Linked DNA regions of Homo sapiens: region 1 is linked to region 2. The links are contacts of gene promoters, found by promoter capture Hi-C in blood cells and fetal thymus (Javierre and others, 2016). All regions are on one chromosome and are shown on one strand. Each heading gives the region's core, a stretch centred on a gene start or on the middle of the fragment in contact. The rest is flanking DNA. Distances are from core to core; before and after follow the strand shown.

Region 1 (2,700 bases), core at 182-2,681, 1.6 Mb before region 2:
ATCAGTGAAATGGATGTGCGGGTTTTGATTCATTCATACCAGGGCTTACTCATTAAGCCAATATGTGCCTCATCTATTGAATTCCTACTATATGCCATACCCTTTAAAAGACATTGTGGATGATCCAAAGAGGAATTAAAAATGGTGATCTCTGTCCACAGGAAGACATGAAAATGCCTAACATTTTTGTAAGCTCTTTGCTTTGCAAATCCTTTCTCACGTGTGATCTGAGAGATGAGTTTTATTATTATCTTAGTTTTTGTCTGGGCACAGCAGCTTATGCTTGTAATCCCATTGTTTTGGGAGGCTGAGGCAGGAGGATTGCTTGAGCCCAGGAGTTCAAAGCTTCAGTGAGCCATGATTGCACCACTGTACTCCAGCCTGGGCAACAGAGCAAGATCCTGCCTGTCTTTCTGAAAAATCAAGAAAAACCTAAACCAAAAATTACCTTAGCTTTTATAGTTGAGGTTAAGTAAACTGCTTAAGTTTGTGCAGGAGTAGAGATTGTCCTAATAAGTGGAAGAGGGGAAAAGGCTGGAGGGAGGAAAGCAAGATTGGGGAAGTCAGAACCAGGGGAGGATAACCTGAGCCCAGGAAAGAGGGCCTTTGGAAGGGAGAGTGGTTGGTCTTCTCAGATGTGGTGGAAGGAAAAAGGATGGGGATAAAGTGGAGGAAATGGGGACATTCATTCTGTGGCCCCCAAATCATGGTGAAATGTGAGATGAGATGGTAAGCTTTATGAGAGAGTGAGAGTTTTAGGGAGGGCAAGGCAGGTTTCACCCCAGCACTGTGGGCAGTGGGAAGGCCTCAGCAGAACCACAGGGAGTCTGGTGGCAGTTAGGTGCTTGGATTCACTAGAAGCTCGGTGACCCTGGAGCAGGGATGGGGGAGCAGCATTCAGGACTGCAAACGGGCACTGGGTTCTTCCCTTTTTCTTGATTATTAGATCCTATGGTGAAGACATTGGGTTTTCTCATTTAAAAAAATTATGTGTTGGTTTGTGCAGTGCATAAACTAAGTACAAAATAATTTTTGTAGACGGTTCAATTTATGGTCTCCTAGCTACCTTTTAAAAACAGGCTCTGGTGATGAGAAGCCCAGAGAGCTGCTTTTTCCTGCTTTTCATCCTAAGTTTTCCTTTATTCATTCCACACTATTTAATGACTTCACACTCAGTGTGAGAGATGATGCTGTGGGAAACATAAAAATGAATCAGACACTGGTTCTGTCCTCAGGAAGCTTTAAGCTATGATTTGAACTTAAAAGGATTAAGTGCTAAAAGAGAGGAAAAAATGAAGTGAGGAGGAGGGGATGGTCACGTCCATGGGGGATAACTGGAAAAGCTTCATGGAGAGTTGGGCCTTGAAAGAGTTTGGGTTTGGCCCTGCAGAGGAAAGTGTGCTCTAGCTGCACTCAGTAGGTGTTTATTGAATGAATGAATAAAAGCTGAATGTGATGTCACCTAGTAAGGTGATCAGAAAGGAGGACCGAGTCCAGATAAAGATAACAACAAGCTTGTAACACATATCATGCCCCAGACACTGTTCAAACACACTTTTATATATTGTTAACTTGATCCTCATGACAGCCCTGTGACACAGGGGCCATGATTTCCAAGTTTACGGATGAGGAGACTGGCCCAGAGAGGATAAGTAACTTGCCCAAACGTTCACAGTTTGTGAGTGGTGAGCAGAGCTTCGACTCTTGGCCACGTTATTGGAAGACTGATGTCAAGAAGTAAGCATCCTTCCTGTACTTTTGTCTGCTATCATCAGCCTGATCCACAGACCTGAATGCACAAGCCCTCACCTCCACTTTGATCTCATTACTGTATGCATCCTCTCTCTGGTTAATGCCTCCCATGCCTATGCTCACTCTCTTTCCCAGGCTGGAGATGGCATTGGGAGGCTGCAGGTGGCACCAGGGACCTCATGGGCAGAATCCCAGGGGAGCACAGGCTATTGCTGGGCAGCTCACTGCAGACTCAGGCAGTGAGTGGTAATTGCAAATAACTACAGCAACGGGTCTTAGTTTAACCTTGCTCATTTCCAGAGTTCCGCGTTTTTGATTTTGTAGACTTTGCAGCATGGTATTAATGCCAAAATAATTTGGATAAATATAAGCCCCGCAAACTCCTTGGCCTATGGTCAAGTTTTTCCTTTTCTGTGGCTAGTTTTTTATATGCACTGATGAATAGGCCAATCTGTGTGCCGATATTAATAAGATTCACCACAGCGATGAAAATGCTTCATCATGCCTCTGCAGGTCAGAACTTGGGGATGGGGTACTGAATCGACAGGAACAACACTGACGTGTGTCAAAGGACTTGTGTCTGGAAAAGGAAAGGGAACCTAAGAGGGTCCCATGTATTTGGTGTATATTATAACAGCTTATGCTGGACCTATGTCAAGGCACAAGGACCTTCTGACATCTAAGACCTGGTAACATCACTCCATCTGGCTTTATGATTGGGCTTTAACAGTGACCACCAACATGAGGACCCACCATATGCCAGGAACAGGGCATGATATTGGAGAGCTACCAATGCCTGAGGCTTGGACCCTGCCTCGGGGGAACCCAGCTTCGCAGAAAAGATAGTTACATAAATGCACGACTCATGCTGCCATGTGCATGGACTGTCCCAGAGGTGGGTATAGGGTGCTCAGGAACACAGATGAGGGGACATGAGGAGGGAGGGAG
Region 2 (2,700 bases), core at 29-2,528:
TGTTAGCAGATAATTACACCAACCACTTTTATAAATATTGATTCTAAGACGTGTTTTTAAAGAATCCCTGGAGTCATTTTTTGTTTGTTTTACATAGAACAGGTGAGTTTTAGACCTAATGTTTTGTAGTTTTCTTACAATTCGTTTTCTTCTCTCCCGTTTTACCGATTTGTCCTTAATTGTAAAAACACTCAAAGGCACCCCAAGCCAGCCCGGGGTCCGGGGAGTGGGTCAGTGGTCAGAGGCCTGCAGCCTCCCGCCCAAGACCTACCTCTCAGCGTGTTGCCTTCTTTGACTTTTGGGTCAAATTCTGCAGATAAAATGCGGTCAATTCCAAATTTGAGGTCTTTGCTGGAGGGGGCCGGGGCAGAGCCACTGTGGTGGGGGTTCGGAACCACTCGCGTCCCCGAGGCCGGGGGCTGCAGGGCGCCAGCCCGGGGCGGAGGCGGAGGCTGTTGCTGCTGCGGCTGTTGCTGCTGCTGTTGTTGTTGCGGGTGATGGTGGTGGTAGGCGGCTGAGAGCGGAGACAGCCGCTGCGGGAAGCCAGCCGGGACTTCGGAGGGCGCCACCACTGGGGTGGGTCGAAGCGGGGATCTGGCCGCCGCTTGGAAAGAGGCGTGCGGGTGAACCGAGCCCAAGTGCGCGGTGAGGGCGGCGGCCGAGGCCCCTGCCAGGCCCTCCGGGGCCGCCCCCAGATCCCCCACGCCGGCGTGCAGAATGTCTGCGATGCAGAAGGAGGGCTTTTTGACGGCGGCGGGGTCCAAGGGGAAGGAGCAGCCGCCTGGGCCGGCCGAGGAGCAGTAAGCGGCCGACCAGAGGCTGAAGTTGGAGGCGTAGAAGGGAGCCAGCCCGGCTGCGAACATCCTGCCGGGGTGAGCCGCGCGGCTGCCGCAGTCCAGCCGGACTGGGTGGGTGGGCGCGCGGGGAGGGGCGCGCGAGTCCCGGAGAAGGCGGCGGCAGCCGAGGACGATCCGCTTTCGCTTCTCCGCCCGCACTGAGGAAGAGAGGCCGGGAGCCCTAGCGCCACCGAGGGAGGAGGCGAGGGCCGGATCTCGGCCGGTCACCGCCTCGCTCCCTGGCCTCGCTTTAAAGGCGGCGCGGCGCCCGCACTCCTCGCGGGCTGGATGAGAGCGAGGGGCGCTGGGGCCGCAGGGCGGGCGGGGGAGCCAGGGAGACGGGAGCCGGACACCGCAAGAAAACCCAAATAGCTAAGCCCTAAGAGCTAAATTTAAAACAACAACAATAATAGTCCGTTAGTTAGGGGGGGGGAAAAGTAATAGAAAAAAAAAAAAACTCGTCTCTAAAAACTCCCAAAGTTTTGGCAGGAGCTTTCGAGTCAGGCCCGGGGTAGGACCTCGATCCGAGCGCTCATTGGTCATCCTCGTGACCAATGGGAGCGGGGAGTGGAGGGGAATTAGGAACAAGGGGGCCTGGCCGGACCCTAGCCACGCCCCGGCCACGCCAAAGTTTTTGCTGCGGCCGCGTGGGCTTAGTAGCGCACATCGCAGTGCTTCTTGCTACTCTGCGTAGGGGCCAGGCAGCCGCTCCGGAGGGCTCTGACTCTCTTCTAACTTCTGCAGCTCCGAACCGCCACGGGGCAAGGAGGGTTGATCACAGGAGCTTTCCTGAAGCGCTTGTCACCCGGGGCGAGTTGGGGGCGTGGGGAAGGGACGGTAATCTCACTCTTTAGGGCTCTGCAAAGCCCGCCTCCCGGTGGAGAGCGGAGCGCGCTTTGGCCCCTTTGCTTCCCTTCTCTTGACCTCATTCTGCTTTTATTCCAGGAGTCCGTGTCCTCGGCAAAGCCCCTCATCTTTCCTGGGCCCTTGCCCAAATGTTGCCGCCCTGAGTCCCGGCCCAACTCAGCACCGCGTCCGCCTCGTGCCTCCCAGGAGATCCTCCGGGAAGCGAGGAGGAGGGGCGGCCGCAAATTGGTTTTATTCTGAGCTGTCACACAGTGACAAATTGAACGAGTGACTTTTCAAACAAAATAAGACGGATGGCTCCAAACGTCTCTCTTAGACGCAGCCAAACCTTTCCCCGGAGCCTCAGAGGCTACAAAACAGGCTGCCTCCCGAAACCCGGGAGAGCGGCACGCGCTTCCATCCTTTGCAGGAGGTTGTAGGAAATGTTAGCCTCACCCCTCCACCACATCTCCGGATCACGTGGGGTTCGTTGTTTTGCAAGTGCCCACAAGAGCAGATTTCCGTGGGGTTCAATACTGCTTTCAATTCTGTGACAGCTTCCCCAGGAACCCCTTGGGCCTGGTTGCAGGAGGAGCTGCGTGGTGGTCAACGTCTTCCATTCGTGCCTTGGGTCTTTAGAACGCAGGGTAGTGGTGGTGGAGGTTTTGTGCAACATCGACATATCTATTTTAAGAATTTCTTCTCTTTAAATTATAGTCAGAATGAATTTCCCCACCCCTCTCCCAAACAAACCACAGGCCACCCAGATGAGCTGTTCTTGCACATTTTCAGGAAGAAAATAAAATAATACGAATAATGAAACCACGAAAACTTTTGTTTTCGATTGCCCTAATAAGCATCTCCTAACAGGGATTCTGTGACATTTTTATTTCCCTTCAGCACGAAGGCTCCTCACCAAATAAACCCAGAAAAGCAAGTGAACTTGCCATGCCTATCTCGAGTTCAGGGTTTGGGCTTATAAAATTAATTTCTGGTGTTTTCTCTAGCCCCTTGATGC

What was found. Contacts are between HindIII fragments. The CHiCAGO score rates a contact against its expected background, and 5 or more counts as called.
Region 1: a contact is called between a fragment that was not itself captured here and the fragment with the promoter of HLX in region 2, in 3 of 17 cell types (fetal thymus, total B cells and naive B cells). The highest score is 9.7, in fetal thymus.

Annotation. Positions count from the first base shown.
Region 1 is chr1:222,445,875-222,448,574 of GRCh38, reverse strand. No RefSeq gene overlaps it. Among named protein-coding and RNA genes, the nearest start is that of TRT-TGT2-1, 18 kb to the left of the region's middle. The HindIII fragment of the contact is 171 bases long and covers 1,346-1,516 here.
Region 2 is chr1:220,878,021-220,880,720 of GRCh38, reverse strand. HLX (H2.0 like homeobox) reads right to left here and starts at 1,278. Exons shown (of 4, transcript NM_021958.4): 1 at 272-1,278. The coding sequence starts at 863. HLX-AS1 (HLX antisense RNA 1) reads left to right here and starts at 581. Exons shown (of 3, transcript NR_046901.1): 1 at 581-872. RefSeq lists an enhancer at 1-553 and a silencer at 1,672-1,721. The HindIII fragment of the contact is 7,579 bases long and covers 1-2,700 here.